Linked DNA regions of Homo sapiens: regions 1 and 2 are each linked to region 3. The links are contacts of gene promoters, found by promoter capture Hi-C in blood cells and fetal thymus (Javierre and others, 2016). All regions are on one chromosome and are shown on one strand. Each heading gives the region's core, a stretch centred on a gene start or on the middle of the fragment in contact. The rest is flanking DNA. Distances are from core to core; before and after follow the strand shown. Region 1 has its middle 42 kb from the start of MAGED1. Region 2 has its middle 16 kb from the start of MAGED1. Region 3 holds the start of GSPT2 (G1 to S phase transition 2).

Evidence for each region. The method cuts DNA at HindIII sites, captures the fragments that hold promoters and counts their contacts. A CHiCAGO score of 5 or more calls a contact.
Region 1: a contact is called between a fragment that was not itself captured here and the fragment with the promoter of GSPT2 in region 3, in 4 of 17 cell types (activated CD4 T cells, non-activated CD4 T cells, total CD4 T cells and 1 more). The highest score is 6.4, in activated CD4 T cells.
Region 2: a fragment that was not itself captured here is called in contact with the fragment with the promoter of GSPT2 in region 3 in 1 of 17 cell types (fetal thymus); the score reaches 5.2 in fetal thymus.

The regions. Positions count from the first base shown.
Region 1 is chrX:51,934,341-51,937,824 of GRCh38, forward strand. No RefSeq gene overlaps it. Among named protein-coding and RNA genes, the nearest start is that of MAGED1, 42 kb to the left of the region's middle. The HindIII fragment of the contact is 840 bases long and covers 1,319-2,158 here.
Region 2 is chrX:51,875,951-51,879,082 of GRCh38, forward strand. It overlaps a transcript of MAGED1 not described here. Among named protein-coding and RNA genes, the nearest start is that of MAGED1, 16 kb to the right of the region's middle. The HindIII fragment of the contact is 2,245 bases long and covers 202-2,446 here.
Region 3 is chrX:51,741,772-51,745,127 of GRCh38, forward strand. It overlaps GSPT2 (G1 to S phase transition 2), which reads left to right and starts at 1,671. Exons shown (of 1, transcript NM_018094.5): 1 at 1,671-3,356. The coding sequence starts at 1,856. The HindIII fragment of the contact is 6,668 bases long and covers 1,030-3,356 here.

The DNA of each region.
Region 1 (3,484 bases), core at 489-2,988, 190 kb after region 3:
ATCTATATCTCTGTTTTGGTACACATTTTCTTTATCTATTACACTACTGATGGGCACCTGGGTTGGTTCCATGTCTTTGCTGTTGTAAATAGCATGGTAATGAACTTATGAATGCATGTTTCTTTTAGGTATAATAATCTATTTTCTTTTGGATATATATCTAGTAATGGGATTGCTGGGTCAAATTGTAGCTCTGTTTTAAGTTCTTTGAGAAATGTCCAGCTCTGTTTTAAGTCCTTTGAGAAATATCTAGACTACTTTCCACAGTGGCTAGACTAATTTACATTCCCACCAATAGCATATAAGCATTCCTTTTTCTCTGCAGCCTTGCCAGCATCTGTTGTTTTTTTAACTTTTTAATAACAGCCATTCTGAGTGGTGTTAAATGGTATCTCATTATGATTTTGATTTGCATTTCTCTAATGATAGTGATGTTGAGCATTTTTTCGTATGTTCTTTGGCCACTTGTATGTCTTCTTTTGAGAAGTGTCAGCCAGGTGTGGTGACACATGCCTGTAATCCCAGCACTTTGGGAGGCTGAGGAGGGCAGATTGCTTGAGTCCAGCAGTTCAAGGCTAGCCTAGGCAACATGGTGAAACCCTGTCTCTACAAAAAACAAAAAAGTTAGCCGGGTGTGGTGATGCACACCTGTAGTTCCAGCTGCTCAGGAGGCTGAAGTGGGAGGATCACTTGAGCCTAGGAGATTGAGGCTGCACTGAGCCATAATTTTGCTACTGCACTCCTTCCTGGGTGACAGAGTGAGACCCTGTCTCAAATAAACAACAACAACAACAACAAAACACACACACACAAAAACAGAGAAATGTTCATGTCCTTTGCCCATCTTAAATTTTTTTTGCTTGTTGAATTATTTAAGTTCCTTGTAGATTCTGGATATTAGACATTTGTTGAATGCATAGTTTGAGAATACTTTCACCTATTCTGTAGGCTGTTTACTCCGTTGATAATTTCTTTTGCTGTGCAGAAGCTCTTTAGTTTAATTAGGTCCTACTTGTCAATTTTTGGTTTTGTTGCAATTTCTATTGAGGACTTTTAGCCAATAATTCTTTCCCAAGATCAACGTCCAGAATGGTGTTTTTAAGGTTTTCTTCTAGGATTCTTATCGTTTAAGGTATTGTATTTAAATCTTTAATCCATCTTGAGCTGATTTTTGTATATGGTGTAAGGAACGGGGTCCAGTTTCAATCTTCTGCTTATGGCTAGCCAGTTATCCCAACACCATTTATTGAATAGAGAGTTCTTTCCTCCTTGCTTATTTTTGTCAACTTTGTTGAAGATCAGATGGCTGTGGGTGTGAAGCTTCATTTCTGGGTTCTTTATTCTCTTCCATTGGTTTATGTTTCCGTTTTTGTACCAGTACCATACTGCTTTGGTTACTGTAGCCTTATAGCATGGTTTGAAGTTGGGGAATGTGCTGCCCAGGACCAAATTTTAAATTTTGTTTACTAGCTCTGTGGCTTTGTCTAGTTCATGCAATATGTATGTCTATGCCTCAGCTTCTTGTCTGTAAAATGAAGATGCTGACATCCACTTCCCAGAGCTGCTATGAGAGGAAGACAAGCCCCATAACAGATCCTGCTGTGATATCCAAGTCTGCCTTGCCCTTCTGTCCTTCCCCAGCACACACAAAATAAGTTCATTGCTGGGCCTACACAACAGGCAGGGAAGATACAGGCAATTCATGAGTGAGGTGCTCATGTGGAGGCACTCGGCCCCCATTTATGCGTCTTCTCTCAGTCCTTGCTTTTCCTCAGCCCTAGAGCTGAGGAGTTTTTCAAGAGGTATTTGATGTAGCACTTGTTTCAGTTAGAGGCCCTCATAAAGATCTCTTTTAGAGAAGCAGCTGATATCTTCTACTGGCCACCTTGTGGAAAGTCCTGTGGTTCACAGTATTTCATGTTGTTGACACTCAGCAAAGATACTGCCTAAGGAGGCTGATCCATGGCAATTGGACTCACAGAAGTAATTATAGAACAGAAGCCAATTTATTAACATAAACTCATTTTGACTGCCTGGTGCTCACTCTTGTGCACCTTCTCTCCCAATAAAGGAAAACAGTCACAGGTAACTTGAGGGAGGGGAATTGATGGTCATGTCAGTGGCTGGAATTCTTGAGTTAAAATTTTCCATTCACAGAAGCTTTTACATGGAATGTCTGGTTACAAATTTTGGTGGTCTGCAGACAAGTTAGTTTGTCTATGTTCCAAGTTTGAAGCATGAAGAAACAGAAAAACCAAATAGACCAATAATAAGTAAAGACATTGGATCAATAAGAAAGCCTCCCAACAACAAAAGGCCAGGGACCAAATAGCTTCATTTTTGAATTCTACCAAACTTTAAAAGAAAAACTAATATCAATTTATCTCAAAATATTTCCAAAAATTGAAGATGAGGGAATTCTCCCTAACTCATCCTATAAGCCTAGCATTACCCTGGGCCCATACAAAAATCAAAATCAGACAAGGCCCCCCCCCACCCCAAAAAATGAAATTACAGTACAATATTTCTGATGAGTACTGATGCAAAAATCCTCCACAAAATATTAGCACACTGAATCCAACAGCATATCAAACAGGTTATTCACTATGAGCAAGCTAAATTTATTCTAGGGATGCAATAATGGTTCAACATGCACGTATCTATAAATGTGACAAATGTGACACATAACATTAACAAATGAAGGATGAAAAGCATATGATTATCTCAATAGATGTGGAAAACTCATTTGACAAAGTTCAGCATCTCTTCACGATAAAAAACCTCTCAACAAATTAGGCATAAAAAGAACATTCCTCAAAAAAATGAAGGCCATATATGACAAACCCACCACTAACATTATACTTAATGGAGAAAAATAGAAAGTCTTTCCTTTAAGATCTGGAACAAGACAAGAATGCCCATGTACACCACTTTTGTTCAACATAGTATTGGAAATCCTAGCTAGAGCAATTAGGCAAGAAAAAGAAATAAAGAGCATTTATATTGGAAAAAAATAAGTCAAATTGTCCTTGTTTTCAGATGACATAATCTTATACTTAGAAAAACTTAACAACCCCACCAAAAAAACTTGAAACTGATAAATGAATTCAGTAAAGAGGCAGGATACAAAATCAGGACTCACAAATCAGTAGCATTTATATATACCAACAGCAAACAATCTGAAAAAAGGAATCAAGACATCAATTCCATTTACAATAGCTATAAAAATGGAATACTTAAGAATTAATTAAACAAAGAAGTCAAAGATCTCTGCAATGAAAACTATAAAACACCGATGAAGGATATTGAAGAGGACACAAAAAACGGAAATATATCCCATGTACATGGATTGGAAGAATTAATATTGTTAAAATGTCCATACTACCCAAAGCAATCTACAGATTCAATGCAATCCCTATCAAAATACCAATGTCATCCTTCACAGAAACAGAAAAAGTAATTCTAAAATGTATATGGAACCAAA
Region 2 (3,132 bases), core at 74-2,573, 130 kb after region 3:
ATAGTAAGTGTTAGAGTAATTGTGCTCTAATCTCAGACATCCTACGGGAGGATGAAACCATACATAGGACAAACCCACACCCACACCCATAGTGTGGGTCACATGACCATAGCTTCAGACCAATTTCAGAGACTATAAATCAGCACGAAAAGGCCATGATGGTGAGAAAATGTGTGAAGAGCATTGAAGAGCCTTTGGCCAAGCTTCAGATCTTATTAACATCAAATAATTCATTAGCAGAGATAAACTCTATGAATGTAGTGATCATGGATGGTCTTTCTTTCTTTTTTTTTTTTTCTTTTCACATTCAGTTGACTTTGTGGATGGTCTTTCAACCAGAGTTCAAATGTCATTCATTATTGTTAAACACATACTGAAGCCATAGAAATGCAGTCAGTGGAAAAAAGCCTTCAGGAACAAATCAAACCTGAGTAATCATGAGAAATTTCAACCTGGAGAGAAACTGTTGAATATACAAAATGTGATACTCCACTCTGTTCTTATCCCATGCAGACTCCCCCAATCTGTGTAAGTGATTCCTTTGGATCCCTCCTCACATGGCTTTGGTGAGGGAGTTGCATGCCCCTCTCCTTCCTCAAGAAAAAGGAAAACACTCTTCCCCAAGCCAAGGACTCACAACACTGTAAATTCTTATCTAATTCTTTCTAGCTTTCTGAGTACATATGGGCTGAAAAGGAATGGAATGAATACCAGTAGCATGACTAGTATGCTCTCCCCATGTAAGGCCCGTAGGATTGTGTTCAGATCTCCTGGGATGTTCTTTTTAGAATGTGGAGGCACTGGGTACCTTTTTCTTTTCTTTTCTTTTCTTTTCTTTTTAAAGGCTATATGGCTTTAACCAAAATTCTGAGGAAAGTGTGAAAGTTCCATTCAATAACCTGCTAAATTTATATTATCTTTTCTCATTTAATATTACAATAGAAGCATGCTTCTGCCATTAAAAACATCTGAATCGGATTTTTTATCACTTTCAATTTAAAGCATAGTCTTCAAAGGTAAATTACTAAGAAAGTATAGATATTTTTTAGGCTCTAAATATACGTTTCTGAATTGTTTTCTAGTAAAAGGAATATTTGTTTGGCTTTTCAATAGCAAAGGACATCCTCAGCATTTTTTTTAATGGAGAAAATGATAGTGGAAAAGAAAGTCATAGATTGCATTTTTTCCTAGATCAGGAATTCATAAATAAGACTAAGAGGCAAGACACCAACCAAAAAAAGCATTTGCAACAAGTGTGACAGATACAAGGTTAATAACCTTAATGTACAAAGAATTCTCACAGCAAAATACAAATGATTAAGAAACGCTGAGAGTATCTTCCCATCATTAATAATAATAATAAATACAGTTTGAATCAATTAAATGTCATTTTGTCTGTCAAAATGGCAAAGATATTTTCAAAGCAAATGTTCAGCACTGTTAAGGGTATGTGAGAAGTCTTCTGCATTGCTAGTGTTGACAAAAACCTTTCTAGAAAGCAATTTGGTATTATTGAATAACGGCCTTAAAATAGTTCATACCCGTTTGAACTAGTAATTCCATTTCTAATAATATACCATAAAGAAATAATTGGAGGTATGCACAGAGGTTTGTTGGGGGAAAATCACCACAATGATAATCTAGTGAACAAAAATAAATGGAAACAAGATTTTTGTTATTTGGTCAAGTAGGTAAGTTCATATGATGGGATATTACACGTTATCATAAAGAATTTTGCAAAGACTTTTTAATGTCATAGAAAATGTTATGCCAAGATAATTGTGATAAAACATTATATACAAAAAGAATCTCAGATGTAGTATATTAATTACAACTGTGCATGTATGTGTGTGATGTTAGACTTGGTATGGACCATTTTCCCAATGTTTTTCAGATGATTTTTCTTTTATAAAATGAAATCAGGAAATGTCATACTATGTAGCTGAACTCATATGACTTTTCTGAGTCCAGCTATATATCTATTTTAATTGTTGTTAATGTTCCATGATTCCCAAATTAAGTGGTTTATGAGGTTTATATTGATGCTGAACATTGAGGACACATATGGCACTAAATCATATCCCAGGTGTCTGAGAGCATTCAGATATGTCTTGAAATTTTCCAGTGCAAATCAAAGAGGGACTCTATGTCACAAGATACCAGAAGCTCACATGGTAAGGTCATCTGATGCAGTATCAAACAAATATCCCCAAACTGTGCATTGAGGTTCTACTTGCAGGCTTCCTCCCCTTGTCTCTTCTGATAACCTTCTGCTTATTAATGGAATGTGAGTTGCTGTGGTGATGGGGGTGAGGAATTAACTGGAAGGGAATTGTGCAATATGAAGGAAGGTGTAATCTATTTAAGTCTGTAAGAGATTACAAGTCACCAAGAAAGCCTGCGATGGTGAGAAAATGTGTGAAGAGCATTGAAGAGCCTTTAGCCAAGCTTCAGATCTTATTAACATCAAAATTCATTAGCAGTGATGAACTCTATGAATGTAGTAATCATGGATGGTCGTTCAAGCAGAGTTTGGATGTTATTCATTATTGTTAAATACATACTGAAGCCATAGGAACGCATTTGATATAATCCTAAGATGTCACTTTGCCTGCTCTTATGATGCAAATTGGCACCAGAAATCCAGCCAACTTTATTAAAATTGTGGAAATCTGACTGGACTCAGATCCATTAATCCTTGAAAGCAGGTAATACATGTATTTTTGCCATCATTATTTCTCCAGCACTTATCACAATGTGTAGCACTTTACTAGGTATACTTTTAAAATGTTTTAAAATTCTTATACATATATAAATAAAGAAGATAAAATCAAGTTGACTCAAGTCTAGAAAACATGGATGAGGGATTTAAGAATTCTAAAGTGTTTATTCTGAGGCACCATATTGCTTTATGTTTGGAGGCTCAGTGTATATTATCAATGTAGAGGCTTCAAGAGGGACCCATTATTTCATATGGTTATTCTATCCTTTACTTAGGGGTGTTATAATCTCATGCTATGATTTTGTTTTTATTATATTTTGCTTTAAAGTACTATGTCTGATATTAATACATCATCTTTTTATTATTTGCATGTAATAACTTATTCCATCCATTTATTTTCATCTTTGCTG
Region 3 (3,356 bases), core at 421-2,920:
AAGGGTCCAAGTCTGTCTTTTTTCCTACCCCTAAAGTCTGGAGAACACAATTCTCAAGTTATAATCAGGTACTTGGTTTTATAATATTTTGCTTTGTTGTTGGATTTAAATATCCAACTATGAGGCCAGGCGTGGTGGCTCATGCCTGTAATCCCAGCACTTTGGGAGGCCGAGGCAGGTGGATCACCTGAGGTCAGGAGTTCAAGACCAGTCTGGCCAACATGGTGAAACCCTGTCTCTACTAAAAATATATATTAAGAAAAATTAGCTGAGCTTGGTGGCGGACGCCTGTAATCCCAGCTACTCAGGAAGCTGAGGCAGGAGAATTGCTTGAACCCAGGAGGCAGAAGTTGCAGTGAGCTGAGATCATGCCACTGCACTCCAGCCTGGGCAACAAAAGTGAAACTTTGTCTCAAAATAAAAAAATAAATCCATCTATGTGACACCATCTTGTACTAAGCAGATTGTTTGGACTGAATAGTCTTTCTAGGTATGTCACAAAACCTGAATTCATAAAAGCAAAAGGTGACAGATTTGAGTACATGAAGACTAAAAACAGATTCAGAGAATAAGTTTGTATTTTCTATGTCAGTTTGCACTAAATTAATTTACAAACAAGGTCGCTGAGGCTTTGACTCAACTGTTAACACTTTCTGAGAGTGAGATTCTTTTGATTAGGGTCTTAAGGTCTTTGTTCATCTCAGAAGTCTTAATTGGTTTAATTAGGCTGACACCTACAGCCCTGTCTCATTACCATAAACTGTAGAGGGGTTCAACATGACACTGATTGTTTCTTAGAGCAAAGCCAGTGCAGTGAGTAGGATTCCAGGCCCCCCGGAATGAAGCAGGAAAACCCGAGGCCTGTGGATGCAGGATGTACTAGGGAGGTGCTGGGGAGTAGTGCAGATAAACCCAGAATTCAGTTGGTTGGTAAAACAAGAGTGATCTGAGTCCTGTGCTTGTCTACGTGATCCACCATTGAATGGCAGGCCAGCCATTGTGCAGGCATCTGCATATGAAGTGACTGGAAGCTTCACTGGAACAAGGATCTCCTTGGAAATTCTCTCCCCTCAGACAGCCAGGGTGCTTAACATGAAAAGAAGTTGTAACCCTATCCTTAAACTATAGAAGCCATCAGCAGAAGTTACAGGCTTATGGGGGCCCACTGGAAAGGGAAAATCAAAAGGCCTGTGGATTTCAAATTAATGAGTGATCTTAAGTTGCATTTCCTAAGTTCGGCTACAGACTCATATATTTCATGAGTCCCTCCCTACCCATTCCTTGCCTCTCCCTTCAGTTGCTGGGTTTCTGAATTTCTGTATAGTTAACCCTTATCTTGCCTCCCATTTGTTCAATAGAAATGATCACTTTTACTTGAATCTTTTGGTAGAATTGTATACCATGTGTTCCTGTCTAGGTTTAATCATCAGATTGTGGTCAAATTGCTCTGCCAGACTGTGTGAACAAAAAAGTGAATGGAAATTTTCGTTTTAAAAAATAATACTTTTGGACTTAGCCCGTGGCTAAGAAGAAGTAAGGAAGCCAAGCGTACGGATAGCAGCGAGGGGTCAATCCACGCCCGGCGTTGGGTCGGGGGTGGAGGAGTCGGAAGTGGTTGGGGTTTGGGGGAGGAGATCCGCTCACACACAAGAGGAGAGTGTTGAGCCGCCATATCTGCTGCTGCCGCCGCAGTTGCGAATGCAGCATCGGCGCTTAGCTGCCTCCGCGGTGCAGCTAAGGTTCGTGTCGCTACCCCTTGGCCCTTCGCTCTTGCTGCCTTAACCCCGCCGGCGGAGCCCGCTCTTCTGGCCTGTTGAGCCCGCTCCCTCACTGCCACACAGCAAGTTCCGAGACCATGGATTCGGGCAGCAGCAGCAGCGACTCGGCGCCCGATTGCTGGGACCAGGTGGACATGGAATCCCCGGGGTCGGCCCCGAGCGGGGATGGAGTCTCCTCTGCGGTGGCCGAGGCCCAGCGCGAGCCCCTCAGCTCGGCTTTCAGCCGTAAGCTCAACGTCAACGCCAAGCCCTTCGTGCCTAACGTACACGCCGCGGAGTTCGTGCCGTCCTTCCTGCGGGGCCCGACTCAGCCGCCCACCCTCCCGGCCGGCTCCGGCAGCAACGATGAAACCTGCACCGGCGCGGGATACCCTCAAGGTAAAAGGATGGGACGGGGGGCACCTGTGGAACCTTCCCGAGAGGAACCGTTAGTGTCGCTTGAAGGTTCCAATTCAGCCGTTACCATGGAACTTTCAGAACCTGTTGTAGAAAATGGAGAGGTGGAAATGGCCCTAGAAGAATCATGGGAGCACAGTAAAGAAGTAAGTGAAGCCGAGCCTGGGGGTGGTTCCTCGGGAGATTCAGGGCCCCCAGAAGAAAGTGGCCAGGAAATGATGGAGGAAAAAGAGGAAATAAGAAAATCCAAATCTGTGATCGTACCCTCAGGTGCACCTAAGAAAGAACACGTAAATGTAGTATTCATTGGCCATGTAGACGCTGGCAAGTCAACCATCGGAGGACAGATAATGTTTTTGACTGGAATGGTTGACAAAAGAACACTGGAGAAATATGAAAGAGAAGCTAAGGAAAAAAACAGAGAAACCTGGTATTTGTCCTGGGCCTTAGATACAAATCAGGAGGAACGAGACAAGGGTAAAACAGTCGAAGTGGGTCGTGCCTATTTTGAAACAGAAAGGAAACATTTCACAATTTTAGATGCCCCTGGCCACAAGAGTTTTGTCCCAAATATGATTGGTGGTGCTTCTCAAGCTGATTTGGCTGTGCTGGTCATCTCTGCCAGGAAAGGAGAGTTTGAAACTGGATTTGAAAAAGGTGGACAGACAAGAGAACATGCGATGTTGGCAAAAACGGCAGGGGTAAAACATTTAATAGTGCTTATTAATAAGATGGATGATCCCACAGTAAATTGGAGCATCGAGAGATATGAAGAATGTAAAGAAAAACTGGTGCCCTTTTTGAAAAAAGTAGGCTTCAGTCCAAAAAAGGACATTCACTTTATGCCCTGCTCAGGACTGACCGGAGCAAATATTAAAGAGCAGTCAGATTTCTGCCCTTGGTACACTGGATTACCATTTATTCCGTATTTGGATAACTTGCCAAACTTCAACAGATCAATTGATGGACCAATAAGACTGCCAATTGTGGATAAGTACAAAGATATGGGCACTGTGGTCCTGGGAAAGCTGGAATCCGGGTCCATTTTTAAAGGCCAGCAGCTCGTGATGATGCCAAACAAGCACAATGTAGAAGTTCTTGGAATACTTTCTGATGATACTGAAACTGATTTTGTAGCCCCAGGTGAAAACCTCAAAATCAGACTGAAGGGAATTGAAGAAG